Regions from separate parts of the Homo sapiens genome. Here region 2 is linked to region 1. Evidence: promoter capture Hi-C in human tissues and cell types (Jung and others, 2019). All regions are on one chromosome and are shown on one strand. Each heading gives the region's core, a stretch centred on a gene start or on the middle of the fragment in contact. The rest is flanking DNA. Distances are from core to core; before and after follow the strand shown.

Region 1 (6,640 bases), core at 1-2,500:
CAAATTCTTATTAGCACCAACTGTCACCACAAACTCATCCTTTTCTGACATACCCATTCAAAAAAACTACTAACCAAATGTCCACAATCCTGCTAAAAGTGTTGAAAAGCTCTTAGTATAGTATTAAGTGTTATCTACAAAATTTGTGATTAACCAAAACACACACAATTGTGTTCAAATGTTATATATTTGAAGAGTCAATTTAACAATTCCTTTTGGTAGACTTCTTTTGCACCTCTTTACGCTTCTTTTTTTTCCTCTTACCACCCTCTTTGACTCCTGCTGAGAAAATAGGGGGATCTCTGTTGCTGGTAACCCAAGATATACCTCCCTCATCATTGTCCACGAAAGTATATTGAGATACATGTTTGGAGCTGTGAGAATTTGGTGAATAGTTGTTGAATGACTGTGTTCTCCAGCTGCATTCTTTTGCAAAGCCCTCTTCATTGGCCACACTATTTACAAGAAAAAATGTCAACTCTCCATTATCTTCAGCTTCTCTTTCTTGATCACTTTCAATAATTTTCTTTGTATTAATATTTCTGCCATTAACGATTTTGTCTGAAGTTGTAACAGATATGTAGTTGTCCATCCCACTATTATCAAAAGCCAGGGAAGAGAAAGAAGTAAGGCCTTCATGCCCCAATGAACCCTGTGATGTATATCCTGTATCATATGAAGAAAATTTCTCAAAAATTGGATATTCACTGGCAGTGGAGAAAAAGTATCCTGCATCTCTGTTTCTGTTTCCATAGGAGCTTCCTGGACGATTTAACAGGTCCTCAAGCGAGTCTTCAAAGAAGTGAAAAGAAAATGGATCCCTTTCATGAAAAATTTCTTTAAAAACATCATCTGGCTTATGGAATGTGAAGCCGTACTCACATTCATCATCAAAATGACTTCCACCTCCGTTTAATCCTTCTGTGCCATATTTATCATAAATGTCCCGTTTCTCATCATTTGATAATACCTCGTATGCCTCAGCTACTTCTTTGAATTTTCTCTCTGCTTCTTCTTTATTTTCTGGATTTTTATCAGGGTGCCATTTAAGTGCCACTTTATGATAAGCTTTTTTAATGTCCTCAGGTGAAGCATATCTTTGCAGTCCTAGAACTTCATAGTAATCCACCATGTTTTAACAGATAGTTGGAAGTGGGTGTGCTGGGTATTGAGAACCGTGGTTTCCTCAGCTCAGGCTCTGCTGGTGGTGGTGATAGAGGTAGTGACTGCAAATAGGTACACTTTTATGTTAAAGACAATGTTATTACCATGTGCTAAGAGATGAGGATACTGATTATGTGGCAAGCAGAGTTACAAATATGTCAGAGAGGGCTGCATTATGGTGTCATTCTGGGGTCAGTGTAGGGACTGGACCTTCCAAATAGAGCTAGTCCAGAGTCGTACCAGACCATCCTGAATCCTCTGGACTGTTTCCCCTGTATGTTTCCCTGGAAGCTTCAGGCAGTGCCTCATAAGCCAATGGAATCTGTTGCTAATAGCCACAGCATATCCCTTGCATAATATGACCTCTAGATTACTGCGCCTTAATTGCTTCCCAGCTCTTCTATGCTTTGGTTTAGAAAAATGAAGTACTGACTTACGGGTGAAGAAAGTATTCAAACAGTTGACATATTTATTTCAGTCAAGAAACAGTTCAGAGGGAGATACAAACAAGTAACTTAGTTACAATATAATAGTTATGATGAGAGGAAGTACTGGATGCTAAACAATTATATGAGAGACAGCTCAGGCTGGGGGTGTCAATGAAAGCCTCTTGGAGGAAGTAGCCTGATATGTTAACTTTCTGCATGCCAGTGGTAAGTCATTTGAGATTATAGTATCTTTGTCCACCCAAGGTTTACTGCTGTAAAACATGTAATTAAAGATTTGGAAAGTTGTGTGTTTATGTATTCACTGTATAATTATTGATTGTCTACTTTGTGCCAGGCACCGTTTTAGCCACTGGTGATAGCAGTATTGAACAAAAGACACCAGTTTTCCTGGTGCTTGCATTATAATAGAATACAAATAGGAGAACAAATAAAATAATTTAAGATAATGCGATATGTGCTCCAAAAAAAATAGCAATGTGCTGGGGGCAGAGCGCTACTTTAGATTGGTTTTAGAAGGCTTCTGAGGAGATGACATTATTGCTGAGACCTATATGACAGTCAGCCACATAGTGATCTAATATGGTAGCCACTGGCCATGTTGATGGACATTTTGGTTGTTGCCAGTTGGGGCTGTTGGACATAAAGCTAGCACTTATTTCAAGTACAGTGGGAAGCCTTTGTGGGGAGTGGGGAATATGCAAGTTTAATGATGTGATTTACATTTGTAATGGATCAGTGGCTACTATTTGGAAATTCAGTCATGTATGGGAAAGTAGAATTCGAGAGCCAAATTAGAAACAGACCAAAGGTGATTTTCTTTGGGGATAAACTACCAGTAGTCTAGACCCGAATTTAAAGGTCTTATATTCTATACCTGGCTCATTTTATTGTCTGAGAAAATTCCCTGTAATCTTTGTTTTTCCTCCTCTATGTTGTGTTTATTTTATTTTCCATCACATTTATAACCCCTCAGTTAAATGATACGCTAATGAAATCTAAAACTGTAGTGTATGCTTCTAGTCTTTCAAGACCATTTGTCAGGTCTGAATATTTTTTTGCTTTGCATTTTTATATATACTCATTTTTTAGAGGTATTGTGAAATGCTTAAAACTCAATTTAAATTCTCTCCAGTGTATGTGCTTACATGTACTTATGTGTGGCTTACCCATGATTATAATTTGCCTACCACTGGAAATAATAACCAATAATGTCGAAAATTATTTGAGTACCCTCTGAGTCACACTGTAGCAAGTGCTCATTTAACTGACACAGCACTCTAGCAAAATAAATATTTTATGCCCATAAGAAAACAGACGTTCTGAGAGAGAAAGTAATTTGTCTAAGGCTACATAGCTTGTTAGTGAAAAATCTGATTTTTAAACTTGAGTCTAATTTCAAGTTCTCATTCCACTCTACTGCATTTCTCGGACTAGGACTTAAAGAGTTTAGGTTCTAGGCATTCCACAAACAGATACTGAGAACCTGCTGTTACCGGAAAGGGGTCCCAATCCAGACCCCAAGAGATGGTTCTTGGATCTCGTGCAAGAAAGAATTTCAGTGGAATCCACAGAGTAAAGTAAAAGCAAGTTTATTAAGAAAGTAAAGGAATAAAGAATGGCTACTCCATAGGCAGAGCAGCCCCAAGGGCTGCTGGTTGCCCATTTTTATGGTTATTTCTTGATTATATCCTAAACAGGAAGTGGATTATTCATGCTTCCCCATTTCAGACCATATAGGGTAACTTCCTGACGTTGCCATGGCATCTGTAAACTCTTGGGGTGCTGGTGGGAGTGTAGCAGTGAGGACAATCAGAGGTTACTGTCATTGCCATCTTAGTTTTAGTGGGGTTTGGCCAGCTCCTTTTTTTAAGAACATCACAGGTAAAGCTCACAGGAAGGTGACAGTCTAGGAGAAGATGTTCGCAGTGTCTAAATTTGACAGGGACTTATTTTATTTTCATTATTATTGTTACTATTATTATTATTTGAGGTGGAGTTTCGCTCTTATTGCCCAGGCTGGAGTGCAATGGTGGGGTCTTGGCTCACTGCAACATCTACCTCCCGGGTTCAAGCCATTCTCCTGCCTCAGCCCGCTGAGTAGCTGGGATTACAGGCATGCACCACCACGCCCGGCTAATTTTGTATTTTTAGTAGAGAGGGGGTTTCTCCATGTTGGTCAGGCTGATCTCGAACTCCCAACCTCAGGTGATCTGCCCGCCTCAGCCTCCCAAAGCGCTGGGATTACAGGCATGAGCCACCGCACCCAGCTGGTCAGCTTCTTTACTATAACCTACCTGTTTTATTAGCAGGGTTTTTGTGTCCTGCATTTTGTGCTGACTTCCTATTTCATTCTGTGATTAAGACTGCCTTAACTTACTGGGAATGTAGCCCAGTAGGTCTTAGCCTTATTTTACCAAACCCCTACTGAAGATGGAGTTGCTCTGGTTCAAACGCCTCTGACACTATGATACAGAGAAAAGGTAGAAAATAGGAAATTCTGCTCTTAAGAAATTCATATAGTTTGAAAAAACTAATTTCAGTGGAGTGTAAAGTTATAATACGAGCACTTGTTTCTGCAGTTATACCCTTCTTTGTTGATCCTTTGCCTCCCAGCCATCCGCTGTGCCATTTTCTCTGCCTCTTCACAACAAAACTTATCCAGAGTATTGTCTCAGTGTCTTTGCTTTCTTACATCCTATTCCCTCCTTGGCATACTCCAATCTGTCTTCTGTCTTCTTTACTCTGCTAAAATCGCCAGGGTCTCCAGTGATTGATGTTACCATATCCAGTGGTTGTCCTTTTGGCTTCCTTGTATTTTGAAGCACTTGCCACACTGTGAGCCCTCCTCACTTTTTTTTTTTTTTTTTTTTGAGATGGAGTTTCACTCTCGTTGCCCAGGCTAGAGTACAGTGGTGTGATCTCGGCTCACTGCAACCTCTACTTCCCAGGTTCAAGCCATTCTCCTGCTTCAGCCTCCCGAGTAGCTGGGATTACAGGCATGTGCCACCATGCCTGGCTAATTTTGTATTTTTAGTAGAGACAGGGTTTCTCCATGTTGGTCAGGCTGGTCTCGAACTCCCGACCTCAGGTGATCCACTTGCCTCGGCCTCCCAAAGTGCTGGGATTACAGGTGTGAGCCACTGCGCCTGGCATAGTCCTCCCCACTTCTTAAAACACTTGTTTTTTAACTTCCTAAATACCACACTCTTTTTTTGTGGGGGGCGGGGGGGCAGCGGGTAGAGACAGGGTTTAGCCATGTTGGCCAGGCTGGTCCCGAACTCCTGGCCTCAAGTGATCTGTCTGCCTGCCTCGGCCTCCCAAAGTGCTGGGATTACAAGCATGAGCCACCATGCCCAGCACTAAATACTGTACTCTTCTAGTTTTCCTTCTTTCTCCTGTGCTCTTTCTCACACTAAAATATTACAGTGCCAGGCTTTGTTCAGTCTCCCTGGGTAATACCCATTCCCAGGGCTTTAGATGCCATCTGTGTGCTTATAACACCCTAATTTATATATCTAGCCTAGCACTTTTCTCCCTGAAATTAAGATTGCTCTTTGACCTCTCCATTAAATTTATTTCCAATAAATATCTCAGGCTTTCCTGTTGCATGTAGTGGTACAACCATTTATTCACTTGTTCAAGTCAAAAATCAAGAATTATTCTTAATTCCTCTTTTTTCTTTATTTCTTATGTCCAATTAGAAGCCAGACTCATTGACTTTTAACTTCAAAATACATTTCAAATCAAGTCACTGGGAAAATAAAGTCAAATAACAAGTGATCTCTGCTTCCAAAGATTGTTCATAGTAGACTGGCAAACTAATTAGCAATTATGTGAAGTGTAGTAGGTATTAAAATAGAAATCATAGGAGCGTTGGGGAAGACATCTGAAACAAGCAGAACAGAGGCAGTAGGTGTGAGAAGAGTAAGAGAAGTCTCTTGCGTAAGTGATGTTTGAGCTGGTATTTTTTAGAATTTCTGTAATCGTATAAGCAGGCAGTGTCCACTTTAGACTAAGAGAACTATATTTTTTAATGCAAATGCTATTATGATGCAGAATGATTTAGCCGGGGTTCTTCAAGTAGCTTAGTGTGGCTGCAATAATGTTTTTTGAGGATTAGGTCAGATAAGGGAGCAGGATCCAAATCATGAAGTTTCCTAAGCAAAAGAGTTTGAAGCTTATGAACTGGATATTTTTGAAATAGGACTTAACACACCAGCTTTGCTACTAATTATATGACTTCGGGCAAAAGATGTTTAATGTAAGTAAAAAGCTATTGAGACCTTTTTTAAAAATTTACTGGGAATAAACATCTTAATTTATGTCTCCTGTTAAAGTGTTACTTGTTTGCTTTGAATTTAATAAAGTTAAGCTCCCTCTGCTTGAGAGTGGTCCAAAATATGCTAGGATTATTTCATATGAGCATTGAAAAAGGAATCAGTTAACTTTTTATATTCTGAAATTTTACTGCCTAATGAGATTACAGAAGACACTATGTGTGCATGAGTACGTGTGCACGAGCGTGCATGTGGAGAAGGTGCAGGAGGAGAGAAAGAGAAATCACCAATGCAACAGCAGCCTACTCCACCAGTGGGTTAGTGCTGCTGGAGGGAGATGAAAAGATTAGGAAGGTAAGATAGCTTTGAAGGCTTTGTATTCTAAATTAAGGAGTTAGATTTTTAACTGTCACGTGAGGTAGGCATTATCATCATTATTTTACAAACACAGAATCAGACTCAGAGAAGTAATCTGGACAAGGTTACACACTTAGTACCAGAGAAGCTGAGATTCAAACTCAGGTTTATTTGACTTCATAATCTTTGCTCTTATCCCTCCCCCTTGCCGCTCACTAGGTCCTCTCTGTTTAATCTCAACAATCAATACTGTACAATCTCCTTGTGAACATACAATTTCTGTAAGGACTATGAATTATGAATAATAATATATGTATTTGGGAGAGAAGAGTCTTAAAAGTTAATTCCAGTTTGTAGAAGATTGTTTAGAAAAATCATAGCTTCTTCTAAAAA
Region 2 (6,773 bases), core at 1,402-3,901, 600 kb before region 1:
TTGTTTTTTTCTTTTTATACTTTGACCTATTTGTACATGATGTCCTGGAGTTTGAATGACTAATCTCCTGGGCCAGAGCACACTGTATTGGGAGGAAAGTGGTTGAGGTGTGTTCCCATTTTATAATGACTTTATCATTTACAATCCATTCTGTCTCTGATGTGGTGGGAAAGTGCCCTGAGGAACTTTTGCAAGGAATCTTACATGATACGTGATACCTACCAAATTTCTTCAGTTGAAACAGTGCTGTGAATGTTTTAAAGTGAGTCAAACTGGTGTTCAGCCCTCAGTCCTGCAGGTCACTCTGTCATGTCTTGTTGTTTTTCTGGATTGAGTTAAAAGTATGTAGTAGACCTGGGTAACTTATAATGAAGATTCTTGACCTTTATAGCAGGGCAGCCTTACAGAAACATAGCTCTTTCTGTCCTAAAAACCAGTTGGGATGAATTTCTCCAGTCTCTGCCAACTTCTTGTTTATTCTCATAATAAGATAAAAGGGGATTGCGAATGCCCTGTGCTATAGAATCCTCCAGTAACAGATAGAAAATTAATATTAAATAATCTTCATTCATTCATTTACCAGTTATGTATCCATCTGTTGTTATAGGTCATGAATATTAGATAATGACTAATTTTCTTTTCTTTTTTTTTTGAGACAGAGTCTTGCTCTGTGGCCCAGGCTGGAGGGCAGTGGCACGATCTCGGCTCACTGCAACCCCCGCTTCCCAGGTTCAAGCAATTCTCGTCCTCAGCCTCCTGAGTAGCTGGGAATACAGGCGCATGCCACCACGCCCAGCTAATTTTTGTATTTTTAGTAGAGACTAGGTTTCACAATGTCGGCCAGGATGGTCTCGATCTCCTGACCCTGTGATCTACCCACCTCGGCCTCCCAAAGTGCTGGGATTACAGGCGTGAGCCATCGCGCCTGGCCGACTAATTTTATTTTCTTAAGTCACACATTTATTCTGCTCATCAGATTTTGGATCCTCTGACCTCCACTCCCCCTCCCCTTACTGGGAGGCCTGGTGCTGCCTTGTGATTAGCTGAGGTTAGACATGGGGTTACCTGGAAATTGCTGCAGGCACCTGCTCTTTTCTCCTGTCACCCACAGTATGTTAATGTCCAGTAGTGGCATAGATTGGGCCGCCTGATTTCTGATGATGTATCTCTCTCATAAAGGAGCCAGTTCAGCAAGCAACATGCTGGCCCCGCATCATTTTAGCAGTCAAAGCAGTACTACCCCCAGAGTTGGCCCTGACGTTACCCTGGGAGGCAGGGATTTGGGCCTCAGAATCATCCGAACTGTCAGGCTTGATGATTATTTCTGTACGACTTCCAGCCTCTATTTGCCAGGTAGATTTTTATGGAGAGGGTAGTGATCTTCTGGCAGCATGCAGCGAGGGAGGTACAGATCTAAGAGAGCCTTCTCTGTATGTTCGACGGGAAGAGCCAGAGGGTCCGGCAGAGTGCGGTTTCACGGTTGCCCCGACATTCCCACGCTGTGTGCGGGCCATTTTTAAAATTAAGTTTAAAAAAATCAAATGATTTAAAGTAAACAGAAAAAGTATTTACATTTTGAAATTTCTATTTTAAAGAATTGGGAAGAAACACTTTTTTTTTTTTTTAAAGAAAAGCAAAAAGATTTGTAACATTTCTAGTATTTACACAGAGAGCGGTGCAAGTCTTTGAGTCCAGGTAGCTGTAGAAACCAGAACCAAGCTGAGTTTGTGATTTTCTAGGCCTGGAGTTTCTTGTAAGAGTCCACTCTGTGCCATGCCCTAAGGAAGAAAGAAAAGATGAAAGATGGGTCCTTGCCCTCAGGAAGTCATGGCCTGGTGAGGGAGAAGGACTTGTAAATGGAGAATTTCTGTGATAGAGAGAGATGGGACTTGTAGATGGAGAATTTCGGTGGTAGAGATAGATGGATTTTTGAATGGAGAATTTTCATGGTAGAGAGAGATGGATGATGTGTTCCAGGAGCACTTAGGAAGAATGTTTAGCCCATCTAGGCCAGGGGCTTCAATAAAGTTTACTCAGGGGTAGATCTTTTAAGAATGTGGATGAAGGGAAGGGACCCTTGGACTGAGGCTTGAAACCTTTCCCAAGGACTTTGCCATGGACATTTAACTCTTCTAGGCAGCACTTCAGGGAATTAATTCCACTGTTGATTTAGGGGAGTGAATGTTGATTGCTTCCCTCTCCGCCTTAATTAATGGAATGTATTCCATGACCTTGCTGTGTTTAAATTCTTGTCACTGTCAGCCGCCACCTTCATCCTACCTTCAGCAAACTGGAGAGATTGTGGAGAATTTGGAAAAACTGTTTCCCTTGAGAGTAGAGTAAAAGGAGAAGTTACTTTGTTAGAATTGGTACCATGTAAGCTTTCTTACAAATAATCTTAGCCAGGGTCTGGGTGTGGTGGCTCACACCTGTAATCCCAGCACTTTGGGAGGCCGAGGTGGGTAAATAGCTTGAGTTCAGGAGTTCGAGACCAGTCTAGGTAGGCAACATGGCAAAACCCTGTCTCTAGAGGAGGAAAAAAAAATTAGTTGGGCATAGTGGTGTATGCATTGTAGTCCCAGCTACTCAAGAGGCTGAGGTGGGAGGATCACTTGAGCCCTGGAGGTAGAAGTTGCAGCAAGCCAAGATCACTGCACTCCAGCCCGAGTTATACAGCAAGACCTCATCTCAAAAAAATAAAAAATAGGCTGGGTGCAGTGGCTCATGCCTGTAATCTCAACACTTTGGGAGGCCAAGGCAGGCGGATCATGAGGTCAGGAGTTCAAGACCAGCCTGGTCAACATAGTGAAAACCTGTCTGTACTAAAAATACAAAAAATTAGCTGGTTTTGGTGGTGGGCGCCTGTAATCCGAGCTACTTGGGAGGCTGAGGCAGGAGAATTGCTTGAACCTGGGAGGCGGAGGTTGCAGTGAGCGGAGATTGCACCACTGCACTCCAGCCTGGGCGACACTCACACTGGGTGACAGTGTGAGACTCCGTCTCAAAAATAAATAAATAAATAAATAAATAATAATCTTGGCCAGGCACAGTGGCTCACTCTTGTAATTCTAGCACTTTGGAAAGCCAAGGTGGGAGAGTCCCTTGAGCCCGAGTTCAAGACCAGCATGGGCAACATGGCAAGACCCCATCTCTAAATAAAATAATAAAATTATTTTTAAAATTTTTAGAAAAAATGTATTTGATGTATTTCAAAGACTGTTTCCCAACCCCTCTCTTTTAGTGCCCGAAGTGACGAAACCAAGTTTAAGCCAACCAACGGCCGCCAGCCCAATTGGCAGCTCTCCATCGCCACCAGTCAATGGTGGCAACAATGCCAAAAGGGTGGCAGTGCCGAACGGACAACCGCCAAGCGCCGCCCGCTACATGCCTCGGGAGGTGCCGCCGCGATTCCGTTGCCAGCAGGACCACAAAGTGTTACTAAAACGTGGGCAGCCCCCTCCACCGTCCTGCATGCTCCTTGGGGGTGGGGCAGGGCCTCCTCCCTGCACAGCACCTGGAGCAAACCCAAACAACGCACAAGTGACAGGAGCGCTGCTGCAGAGTGAGAGTGGGACTGCGCCAGGTAAGGCACCCTGTGAATCGAATGCATGGCAGCTTGACAGAGAGAGAGCACTTTGTTTGCATTGCTTGATGTAAAGTCCAGGAAAGCCATTCATTATATAAACCACTGGGATTAGTCAAAAGATGAGAGAGGATCCTAGTATGCGATGTGTATTGGTGATTCTTGGAACTGAGGTTTAGTGTTCCGTAAGTGTGTGCTCTTGGCATAAGGGCTAACTTAACTGCTGTTGCTTATTATTTTGGGGGCCTTTTTTCCTTCTCAGACTAGAGTGTTACAAATTTGAGCCTCCATAGTTCCACCGTCATATGTGTTCAGGGCATAATTGGACATGGGGCTTGTGCGAAGGCGAATCTTTAGATGCCTGTGTTATGTTTCCAGAATGCTAGGAGGATAGAGAAAATGATTTGCTACATTGCAATATAGAATCTTCGGAGGATTCTAAAATAATACTATAGTTTTTAAATTAGATTTTTAAACTCAGTATTTCTTTTTGTGGGCCCTGGATTTTGAGCTTTGTTAAAAACTGTATGTAGAAATAAGGGATATTTAGCTGAAAGGTTCTACTAGAAGTTTTGAGAGTTTTTGGCCGGGCACGGTGGCTCACGCCTGTAATCCCAGCACTTTGGGAGGCCGAGGCGGGTGGATCACCAGGTCAGGAGATCGAGACCACCCTGGCTAACATGGTGAAACCCTGTCTCTACTAAAAATATAAAAAAATTAGCCAGGCATGGTGGCGGGCTCCTGTAGTCCCAGCTACTCGGGAGGCTGAGGCAGGAGAATGGCGTCAACCCAGGAGGCGGAGCTTGCAGTGAGCCGAGGTCGCGCCATTGCACTCCAGCCTGGGTGACAGAGCCAGACTCCGTCTTAAAAAAAAAAAAAAAAAAGTTGTGAGAGTTTTTAATAGATGAATACTAAGTCAACTAACAGCTAAGAAATTCTAAATATCTTTTAAAGTTTATTAACAGATTTCAACTTAAAATGTCTTTTGGGGTGATATTAAAATTCAGAGCTTGAATACCATTAGGCATTGGCAAAGATAATGAATTGATGGTTGTCACCAGTAGGATGCTTTATTTGAGTTCTGAGTTTAAACAAATAATTGCCTAGAAAATTTGGTCACCATCTTGCTGTGTGCAGAGTAAGGATGGAAAGAAACCTCGTGGTGACACAGACTTCCTGCAGAGATAAGCCCTACCCATGGCCTTTCCTTCCTGGCTCTCCAAACCAGCTGCAAAAGGAAGCATGTGAAGGGGCAGGCCCTGTCAGGCGGAGTTTCTGCAGCCGAGTGTAGCCAGGCCTAGGTGGAGACTGGGGTCCAGTGTGAGTCAGAGTCCACATTATTAAAACGGAGGAGGCCCCTAAATCTCGAGTTTCGGTTTCTATGCTTTTTATTTTTCTATGCCTCCGTATAATACTTTTTGAAACTTCAAATTGATTAAAAGCTGCCTGGTTAAAGAAGCCAAAATAAATTTAGAAGAAATGATCTCATTAAAAACATGTTTTTCCCACCAAATATGGTAAATTCCACCAAAATATATGGTGAGCCAGACTCATTTAACAGATTAAGTTCCTTGGGGTTGTGAACTCTGCCTAATTCATACTCATGTGACACCCCTGCCACCCTGGGCACCTAGCTCAGTGGCTCAGTGGGTATTCATCATTCAGCAGATGCTTACTCCGCAGCATTGTGCTGGCTGCTGTGTGGAATTCTAACGTTAGCAAGTTAGGGTCTCTGCCTAAAAGACGCTAACATGGGGAAGGAAAGTTGTGAACATGGTGCCACAGCACTGAGCAAAATGGCTCTAGACAGGGAAAGATTATTTTCAGGTGATGAGCTTGAAAACAGCTTCGCAGATGAAATGACACTTGAATTGGGCCCAGAAGGATGAGTAAATTTCACTGTGTGAATTCAGCAGGAAAACACAGTAGGTGCCAACGTGAAATGGTGCCAGAGTGAGAAGGCACAAGTTGTGGAATGTCAAGTAGTATCGAATATTGACATCTACATAGGAGGTAGTAGAAGATAAGACTAGAAAAGTTGGTTGGTCCCAGGTCATGGAACATCTTGATGACATTCGAGGCCAAGGAGTTCAGCTTTATTCTTGTGCACTAAGGAACTGTTGAAGGTTCTCCATACAGCAGTGATATAATCAAAAGTGTGCTTTAGAAAGATTGCTCCAGCCAGGGGTGTTTAGAGTAGGTTGAAGATACAGAGCAAGTTTAGAGTGCCATTGCTATTGCCTTGTCCCAAGATACAAGAAGGCCCTTCTCTGTCAATAGGAATGGCAAAGGACGTAGCTTTGAGAGAGATGAAGTTAGACTTAACCGGTGTAACACAAGGCAAATGAAAAAAAAGAGATGACTAAGACAGTTGTGATACAAGCAACTGGGTTGAGAGAAACTGGCATGTGATCAGCTCTCCTAAGGGCAGAGCTCAAAGGAGAGCCCCTTTGAGGGATTAATGGGTAATGAATGCATTTGAAGCTGTGATTAATAAGATGATCTGTTCCCCAGACTCAACCCTTGGAGGTGCTGCTGCTTCAAATTATGCAAATTCCACTTGGGGCTCGGGAGCCTCCTCCAACAACGGCACCTCCCCCAACCCAATTCACATCTGGGACAAGGTGATTGTAGACGGGTCTGACATGGAAGAGTGGCCTTGTATTGCCAGCAAAGACACTGAATCTTCTTCCGAAAACACCACCGATAACAACAGTGCCTCGAACCCTGGCTCTGAGAAGAGCACTCTGCCAGGAAGCACCACTAGTAACAAAGGAAAAGGGAGCCAGTGCCAGTCTGCAAGTTCTGGGAACGAATGTAATCTTGGGGTCTGGAAATCTGACCCTAAGGCTAAATCTGTTCAATCTTCCAACTCTACTACAGAGAACAACAATGGACTAGGAAATTGGAGGAATGTGAGTGGTCAGGATAGAATTGGACCTGGCTCTGGCTTCAGCAACTTTAACCCAAATAGCAACCCATCTGCCTGGCCAGCACTGGTCCAAGAAGGAACTTCTAGGAAAGGGGCATTGGAAACAGATAATAGTAATTCCAGTGCACAGGTTAGCACAGTAGGTCAGACATCCAGGGAACAGCAGTCAAAGATGGAAAATGCGGGTGTTAATTTTGTTGTCTCTGGCAGAGAACAGGCTCAAATTCATAACACTGATGGACCAAAAAATGGAAACAC

What was found. The method cuts DNA at HindIII sites, captures the fragments that hold promoters and counts their contacts. A contact is called where the count stands out against the background at its distance.
Region 2: a fragment that was not itself captured here is called in contact with the fragment with the promoter of DNAJB7 in region 1 in 1 of the 25 tissues and cell types used here (dorsolateral prefrontal cortex).

Annotation. Positions count from the first base shown.
Region 1 is chr22:40,860,863-40,867,502 of GRCh38, forward strand. DNAJB7 (DnaJ heat shock protein family (Hsp40) member B7) reads right to left here and starts at 1,251. Exons shown (of 1, transcript NM_145174.2): 1 at 1-1,251. The coding sequence starts at 1,132. The coding sequence ends at 203. All of the region lies in intron 1 of XPNPEP3 (X-prolyl aminopeptidase 3), which reads left to right. The HindIII fragment of the contact is 4,259 bases long and covers 1-3,622 here.
Region 2 is chr22:40,258,591-40,265,363 of GRCh38, forward strand. It overlaps TNRC6B (trinucleotide repeat containing adaptor 6B), which reads left to right. Exons shown (of 23, transcript NM_001162501.2): 4 at 3,242-3,583; 5 at 6,098-6,773. It overlaps LOC124905121 (a long non-coding RNA gene), which reads right to left. Exons shown (of 2, transcript XR_007068107.1): 2 at 452-1,778. Among named protein-coding and RNA genes, the nearest start is that of TNRC6B, 84 kb to the left of the region's middle. The HindIII fragment of the contact is 8,779 bases long and covers 1-6,773 here.